Linked DNA regions of Homo sapiens: region 1 is linked to region 2. The links are contacts of gene promoters, found by promoter capture Hi-C in human tissues and cell types (Jung and others, 2019). All regions are on one chromosome and are shown on one strand. The core of a region is centred on a gene start or on the middle of the fragment in contact, and the rest is flanking DNA. Distances in the headings are between cores, read along the strand shown.

Region 1 (4,209 bases), core at 1,477-3,976, 800 kb after region 2:
CAAGCGACCCTCCCACTCGGCCTCCCAAAGTGCTAGGATTACAGGCACGAGCTACCATTTCCAGACACCATGGTCACTATTTTAATGTCTGTGTTTAGCAACCTACTCATAGAATTCTTGTAATTTTAACATCTAGCTCTCCTCCCTACGTGATCTCCATCTTACTGCACAGAGTAAATAGAGGCCATCAGGTGGGAGCTCACTCCACTTTTTGGCCCTCTAGTTAGATGGTTTGCCTTTGCCCATTTTTGCTGCATTCCCTCTGTCTTCCTTCGAGATGTGGTCCCACCCCCTCTGGATCCAGGGCCTCCCATCAGTTCAGGAAGTTCATCCTTGGGTTCTCCTGTCTTCCTCCTGTCCCTCAGGCTGTAAGCATGATTGTGTTTTCCAATGCTTTAAAAAAAAAAATGACAACCATAAATACTCCTCTAGACCTTGCGATCCAATCTCCCTTCCTTCACAGCCAAGCTTCGTGAAATTTTCCAGAATCCAAGTTTCCACCCCCAACCTCACCTTCCCTCCTCATCTCATGGTAATCCAAACTCTGCTTTTCCACCACTCCTAAAAGTGCTGGGGTGAAATTTAGCAGGGCCTTTCTGTGCTCTCTTTCCAGTCCTTATCTTGCTAGACCTCTCCGCTGCTTTCGGCCCTGCTGACGCTTTTCATCCTCTGCAGAATCTGTAAAGCTCTTGGCTTCTCTTGACTTCTGGGGCAGCACCCTCCTTCCTGAGTGTCAGCGTTCTCCAAGGTTCCAGCCAACCCTGATGCCCCACAGGCATCTCAGGGTTACCAACTCTGAAACCCAAGCTCGGCATCAGGGCTCTGAGACTTCTGCTCTGAGGGTTGATGGTGCCTGGAAGAGCTAACTCAAGGAGAACAATGGTGAATCAAGAGTTGAGAGGGGTTTCACCATGTTAGCCAGGATGGTCTCAATCTCCTGACCTCGTGCGCCTACCTCGCCCTCCCAAAGTGCTGGGATTACAGGTGTGAGCCACCATGCCTGGCTAAAATTGCAATATTCTTTACCTCTTGTTCCTCCTGTGATTCCTAAGACCTCCAGCCTCTTCAGCCCCCATTTCTCCCAATTTATTGGCCCTCTTCTTGGCCTCATGAGTCCTCTGCTTATGAGTAGTGACTTTGGACACATCCTTTCACCCTTCTGTGCATCAGTTTTCCTACGTGTAGATTGGGCATAACAACAGGTTGTTGGAGAGGTTAAGTTAGCACCCTACATGGTGCATGGTAAGCACTCATCACATGCCAGCTGTTACTAACGGGTTCCCAGTGTCAACGCTGCTACTGAAATATCTCCTTTCATTTTCTTCCTCACTATTCCTACAGCTCCTGCCTCTGCTCATCACTTCTCCTTCACCCCTCTTATCCTGATTGCTGCAGTAACCTCCTGCCTTCAAAGGCATCTCCCTCCAATCTATTCCCTATATTTAAAAAATTCATGTTTGGCTCTGTGACTTTTCTGTTAAAATAACCCCCCTTGGCCTGGCTTGGTGGCTTACACCTGTAATCCCAGCACTTTGGAAGGCTGAGGCGGGTGGATCACCTGAGGTCAGGAGTTTGAGACCAGGCTGACCAACATGGTGAAACCCTGTCTCTGCTAAAAATACAAAAATTAGCAGGGCGTGGTGGCAGGTGCTTGTAATCCCAGCTACTCAGGAGGCTGAGGCAGGAGAATCGCTTGAACCCAGGAGGCGGAGGTTGGAGTGAGCTGAGATCGCACCATTGCACTCCAGCCTGGGCGACAGAGCGAGACTCCATCTCAAAACAAACAAACAAACACACAAAAAAACAAACAAGCATCAGAACTGGTTTATTAAAGCCCCTGGGTTAAAGCTCTGCCCCCTTGGCTTCATTTCCAGGACTTCCCTCTCCAGTCTCTCTCTCCCGCCCACCCTGTATCTCCAGCCACCGCGGGCTCCCTGCAGGTTTTGCACAGTGAGCCCTGCTCTTTCAGACCTCTCCATTGTTGCAGGTGCCATTCTGCCTGGCTGAAGCCCATCCTCCCTTCCTCCCTGGGCTTCACCTCCTTGAGGAAGTTCATCTGGGTCTGTAGGTGACTGTGGCTGTAGAGACTGGTGGGATTGAGATGGCTGACACTCGCACACTGACCCCCACCTGGGCCGTCCTCCGCTTGCTCCTGAGTTTGCTTTGAGGACTGACCTCATTTGAGCCCAGTGTTTACAGGAGTCTCTGGCATTATGGAAAACTAAGGGTCCCACAGTGACAAGACTTGTTTTCCCACAGCTGCCGAACCCTTCAGCCCTCCGCGAGGAGACTCAGCTCAGAGCACAGCGTGTGACAGACACATGGCTGTGCAACGCCGTCTAGATGTCATGGAGGAGGTAACAGGGTGGTTTGGAAGGACATGCGAGTTCAGGACCACCTTCTAGGATGGTGTTTTTATGGGCAGATGCAAGCTTGCTTTGGAATGTGAGGACATCCGGGCCGATCCTGCCCTGTGGCCACCTCGTCCAACATCACCCTCCCATCTAGGCTGCCGGGCTGCCCAGCCCCCAGTGGACCCTGCCTCCCCTAAGGCCTTGCTTACCCCCACCCGGATATTTCAACATCATTACTGGATGGGAAGGTGGAAATTCAGTCACTGTTTTGTTATATAGCCACGATTCCTAACTTGTGTGGGGAAAAGTTTACATCTTTATTGTCACAAGCCTTTAACTGAAATTGAGCATTCTCATTCATCATAAATACAAACAGCGAGCCGTGGTATTAACAGTACTATAACTTTGTCATCAATAGAAATCCAGATAATTTCATCTTCTAGTTATGAATATCTCAACATATAATTTTTATCCTTCCTTATGTCAAAATTTCAGTTGTTATTAGGCCTGATGTTAAATCATGTGATTTAGTGAGTTAATAAATACATTTTATTTTTTTTGAGGCAGGGTCTCTGTCTGTCTACCAGGCTGGAGTGCCGTGGTGCAGTCTCGGCTCACTGCAACTTCCACCTCCCAGGCTCAAGCAATCCTCCCACCTCAGTCTCCCAAGTAGCTGAGACTACAGACACATGTGCCACCATGCCTAGCTAATTTCTGTATTTATTTTGTAGAGGCAAGGTTTTGCTATGTTGCCCAGGCTGGTCTCGAACTCCTGAGCTCAAGCCATCTGCCCACCTCGGCCTCCCAAGGTGCTGGGATTACAGGCATGAGCCACTGTGCCCGGCCAATACATATATTACATCAAAAATTTAAATTTTTTTTTGACAGAGTCTTGCCCTGTCACCCAGGCTGGAGCCCATGGTACAATCTTGGCTCACTGCAACCTCTGCCTCCCAGGTTCCAGTGATTCTCATGCCTCAACCTCCCGAGTAGCTGGGACTACAGGCATGCACCACCATGCCCAGCTAATTTTTTGTACTTACCATGCCCGGCTAATTTTTTGTACCTCTGGTAGAGATGGGGTTTCACCATGTTGGCCAGGCTAGTCTCAAACTCCTGACCTCAAGTGATCTCGCCTCAACCTCCCAAAGTGCTGGGATTACAGGCGTGAGCCACCATGCTGGGCCAAAAAGTTTAATTTTAAATACTTGAATTTTTTTTTTTTTTTTTTTTTTTTTTGAGGCAGAGTCTCACTCTGTCACCCAGGCTGGAGTGCAATGGTGTGATCTCGGCTCACTGCAACCTCCACCTCCCGGTTCAAGTGATTCTCTTGCCTCAGCCTCCCGAGTAGCTGAGACTACAGACGCGCACCACCATGCCCGGCTTCTTTTTGTATTTTTAGTAGAGACAGGGTTTCGCCACGTTGGCTAGGCTGATCTTGAACTCCTGACCTCCGATGATCTGCCCCCCTTGGCCTCCCAAAGTGCTGGGATTACAGGCGTGAGCCACCACGCCCGGCCTAATACTTGAATAATATTTTAATGCAATTGGTGCCCTTAGTAATTCTATATGTTTTATTTTTTGCATTTAAGGCATTATTCTGAGAAGAGGTCTGTAGGCTTCACCACACTGCCAATGGGGTCCATGGCATACACAGGGAAAAACCATTAAGAACTCAGTAAATTTCAGAATCCCAAACCTGTCATTTGGCAGAGATACCACCAGGGGGCGGAACAACAAAAGGAATGTGAGCTCCAGGCTGCAAAGTCCAAAAGGGAGAAGGTATTCTACAGGCGCTTCATCCAAATCTGTGACTAAGTGCCAAAAAAGAAGGAGCCTTAGAGAGCAAGCCCCC
Region 2 (4,474 bases), core at 1,325-3,824:
GCCTCAGAGCCAGGTGAGTGCTAACACCTGCCTGATGTCACCTGGGCCCGGAGCCCTCAAGGGCTGGGCATGTGTTCAGCTCATGGCTTAGCCTATAGACTATCCTTCTTCCTGATACCACTGAGAACAGAACAGGAAGGGATGACATCATAGCTAAGCCTTTGGGGAAGGTAGGCTTTTCTCTGGCTTAGGAGGTAGTGATGACGTTTGATTTTCCAAAGAGAGTGGAAGGAGTAACATGAATGAAAGAAGCTGGTTCCCAGTCCAGAGTCCTCAGCATGGAGTCTTTGCACTATTCATGGCTCCCCAGTGCTATCCAACAATGTCAGACCTCAGCCAGGCCTTCAGAGCCCTCTGTGATTGGGTCCCCACAGGCCTTTCAGCTCATGCTCACTATTAAAACCATCTCCCTAGTCCCTGAGCTCCATAGCCCCCTGGCCAACTCCACCGTTTCTATCTTACTGTGTTGTCTGCCCAGGCTTATCTCTCTTGCCTCCCCACCCTGTCCCAAGGACCAGCTTCGTGGTGAGAGTGAGAAGGGTTTGACATGCAATAACCCTGATTGTGAAGTCAGACAGACTGGTCCCAGTTCCAACAGCCTGCCCTTGGGCAATTCACTCCCCAGCCCCTGGGGCCTGGCTTCCCCATCTGCAAAACAGAGCTGTCTCTCAGGCAGAGTTCACAGCTGGGAAAGGGTTCTGAGAACTGAAGTGGTCAAGTGAATGAAGGCAGCACTCCCCTGGGGTGGGGATGCTCATGCTTCATCAGGATGGGGCATAAACTGAGTCCCCCCAGGAGCAGGCTTGAGAAACAACAGGGTACGCTGAGCTACCTGCTGTGGCTGAAGGTCCTGTGAGCTCAGGGCCTGGAACTGGCCGCAGGGAAGCCTGGGGCCTTAAGGAAGCTTCATGACAAGGCACATGGCGTGATTCCTCCACTCTCAAATCCACAGGATGCACTGGTAGAGGAAGGTCTGGGACATGTGCTGAGGGCTCAAGTGGGCTCCCCACTCAGGCCTGCTCACCTCAGGGCACAATCATAAGAAAGGAGGGGCTGCTCCCCAGGGCAGAGTGAGGCCCCATTCTGGGCTGGGACCTGGAATGCATCCCACCTGGGCTTCACTGGGTGCCTAGGCCCCTCCTAGGCCAGGAATCGGAGAAGGGGGCTATGAACTTCCAGAAGCCAAGCTAGCCAAACTTCCAGAGGCCAAGCTAGCATTCTTATGAAGCTAGGGCACTGCTCTGACCTCATGAATTTGCTTGGCTGGCATTTTGCTGCCTGACCTGTTCCCATGAGCCCATTCAGGATCTGGGGCAGGTCAGTCCAGAGCTGGTCCCTACTCCTGCCCACCTGCCTCCAAGGCTCAGCCCCACCCCTTTCTCTGACCCCTCAGGCCTCTAACTGAGACCGCAGCTCTCTGAATCCCAAACTGTGAGAAAGACAGTCCAGACTCTGTCCATCACAGATGCCCACAGGCACAGTACTTAGTTGACAAATCCATGTCTCTCTCGTTCATTTTATCCTAAGAACAGACACGAGAAAAAAGCAGGATGAGGAGCATGATCGCACCCTTACCCTCCAGATGGGAAACTGAGGCCCAGAGAGGCCTGGAGCACTGGTGCAAGCTGGTAGCAATACTCCAGGGCTCCCTAGCCCTAGCCAGTGCCTTCCTGTGTCCAGGCCTCAGCTTCCCCTGGGGACAGTACAAGTGTTGGGCCAGATGCTCTCTCAGGTCCCTGCGTGGCATCCATTTATTGCAGACCTCCCACCACCTTGCAGTGAGGGTGGCTCTGGCTGCTGGGAAGCCCACTTTCAGCACGTGGGGTTTAAATGCTCCTGCTGTGGGTCTCCCCACTGAGTCCCCTCCCAGGGTGCATGCTGATGGGAGGGGGCAGCTGGCAGTCTGCCCCGGGGCTGTCAGTGTGGGTCCTAGGAGGAGGGATCAGACCCAGTCCTGGGGAGGGCTGGGGGCCTGAAAGGAGCATGATGAGCCCAGGCTGCGTTTTCAGTCTTGCTAGAAGCAGGTCTGGTCCCCAGAAACAACTAGAGACAGGCCCAGGCCGGGACAAGCAGGCTAGGGGGCATCATGGGAGGTGTCTCAGCTTATCTCCTCCCTCTTGCGCCTCTAGCTCACTAATCCCGCCTCTCATCTCACCTTTCTCTAACCCTCTCAGACTGCAGGACCTAGGGCAGCAGGGAAGCTTATTTGGCCTGAGCCTTACCTGCAAAGGGCTCAAAGGTAGACTTTTGCTATTATATTCAAATTGCAACGTATAGATGCTCATATTTTGGAATTAATTACGTTTTAGCAGTTTTTCTTTTTTTAAAAAAATCTGCTGGTACCTTAATAAACATGGAACCAGCAACCTTTTGCCAGGTGTCTGTTCTCCGGGTCTCTGGGCCTGGAGGCGGGAGTGTTTCAAAGCACTTCACGCTCCGCGGCCCCACCGGCTGGCTGCGCTGCCCGCTGCGGCCGGCAGGGGTAGTCCACGGACAGGCCTGGAGGAGGCGGGACGGGGGCAGGGCCGGGAACCTGGGCAAGCCAATAAAGGCTGCGGCGCGCGGCTGCGCGGGACTCGGCCTTCTGGGCGCGCGCGACGTCAGTTTGAGTTCTGTGTTCTCCCCGCCCGTGTCCCGCCCGACCCGCGCCCGCGATGCTGGCGCTGCGCTGCGGCTCCCGCTGGCTCGGCCTGCTCTCCGTCCCGCGCTCCGTGCCGCTGCGCCTCCCCGCGGCCCGCGCCTGCAGCAAGGGCTCCGGCGACCCGTCCTCTTCCTCCTCCTCCGGGAACCCGCTCGTGTACCTGGACGTGGACGCCAACGGGAAGCCGCTCGGCCGCGTGGTGCTGGAGGTGAGACCGCTCGCAGGGCCGGCCTGGGCGCGGGACACGGGCCCGGGGAGAGCCCTGGGCCCCGGGCGGCGCGGTGCCGGGCGCGCTGGGTGACCTTGGGCCTCCCCATGCCGAGCTCTGGGCCTCAGTTTCCCCATTTCTGAGAATGGGCGTCAGAATGATTTCTTCCGGCCTCCCTCGGAGCACTGGAGCGGGGGAGACGGGAGGGAGGGCACGTGTGGAGGAGAAAGCTCAAGGTCAGATCGCAGAGAGGGAGGGCTCAGCACCTCTGGGCCGGCCCGGGCACGAGGGAGGGGCTCCAGGAGCCTTCTGGGGCTGAGCCTAGATCCGGAGCTCCGAGGTGGGTGTCGGGGGTCTTGGGGTGAGCGTCGTGGCCCAGCGGGTGCTCACGTGGCGGCCCTTGCACAACACGGAGCGCTTCCTGGCTCCGGCCCCGCCCCTGCGGTCGGGCTCACACTGGGGGTGCTGGGAAATGGAGCGAGAGGTGGTTTCCAGCAGTAGTGCGGGCCCAGTAGGCCTCAGGCCCCGGCCACCTGGTGGACCCCAGAATGCCCCTCCTGCGAGTCGGGACACACTCAGAGACAGTGTGCCCGGCGCCTCAACCCCTGCCACTGTCCTTGGGGGCCACACTGAGCACCTCCCCTAACTCTGTTTTTGGGTCTTTTCTAAAGCAAAGTAAGAAACAGTCACCAGGGTAGCTTTAGAGGGAAAGCCCTAGTGGAGCCTTCAGGTCGGCCACACATTGACAGCAGGGGTCTGTTTGTGTTGACTGGCCCGTATCCCAGGGAGCCCTTAGTATTTCTTCTTCATTCTCAGTTTCTTCTGGAAAATAGGGACACCCTTCCTGCTTCCATTTGGTTCCAGGGTGGGTCTTGCAGCTTCGAGGGTAGAGGCTGGCTGGGATGGGGCTTCAGCCTTCCCTCCCCACACCCTCATGCCTCTCCCTGGGCCTCAGTTTCCCAACCCCGAATGGAGGAGCTGGTCTGGCTTCTACCTTAGACACACTCTCTTGTCCCTGAATTTCTGATGCTTTGGGCCCAGCTGTGGGAGCACTGCCAGCTGTGTCCACAGAAGTAGGCCAAGATAGCATTGTCATCTCTTCTGACAGATTAGGAAACCAAGGCCACCTCCTCCAGCCTTGGGTTCAGGAAACGGCTCCCAGAAATGATAGAGCTGCCTCCCATGGGGGTTGGCAATAATGGGAATGGAATGTCCACGTGCTTCTTCCTTAGCCTCCTTGGCCACTGTGGGGGTGGGTGGGTGCTGAGAGACACCCACCTTCACCTGCCTCTCCAATGACCATCCTCTTTTGTCCTTCTTCTCCCCCAACAGCTGAAGGCAGATGTCGTCCCAAAGACAGCTGGTAAGACAGGGCCTGGGGCCTTCTGAGATGGGTCTAGAGGGAAGGGGGCCAGGCAGGGCAAGGTGGGTGGCGTGATGAGAAGAGTCGGGGCTCAGAGACCCCTGACAGATGGGAGCTCCATGTGTGGCTCAGCCATTGGGTGCTCTGGGGCAGCCCTGCCATCCCTCTCTGGGCCTCAACGTTGGCTCTGCCCTCCTCTCTCATAGTAGCTGGGAGCCTCAGAGCCAGTGGAAGGCACATGTAAATTTCCCGGAGACTTCCC

Evidence for each region. Contacts are between HindIII fragments. The study calls those that stand out against the background at their distance.
Region 1: a fragment that was not itself captured here is called in contact with the fragment with the promoter of PPIF in region 2 in 1 of the 25 tissues and cell types used here (bladder).

What each region holds. Positions count from the first base shown.
Region 1 is chr10:80,139,823-80,144,031 of GRCh38, forward strand. PLAC9 (placenta associated 9) reads left to right here. Exons shown (of 4, transcript NM_001012973.3): 2 at 2,260-2,357. Among named protein-coding and RNA genes, the nearest start is that of PLAC9, 9.2 kb to the left of the region's middle. The HindIII fragment of the contact is 7,716 bases long and covers 1-4,209 here.
Region 2 is chr10:79,344,895-79,349,368 of GRCh38, forward strand. PPIF (peptidylprolyl isomerase F) reads left to right here and starts at 2,575. Exons shown (of 6, transcript NM_005729.4): 1 at 2,575-2,849; 2 at 4,182-4,212. The coding sequence starts at 2,655. RefSeq lists cis regulatory regions at 2,242-2,819, 2,319-3,360, 2,319-2,992, 2,319-2,870, 2,319-2,869 and 5 more, silencers at 2,349-2,758, 2,779-3,008 and an enhancer at 4,323-4,474. The HindIII fragment of the contact is 10,018 bases long and covers 1,553-4,474 here.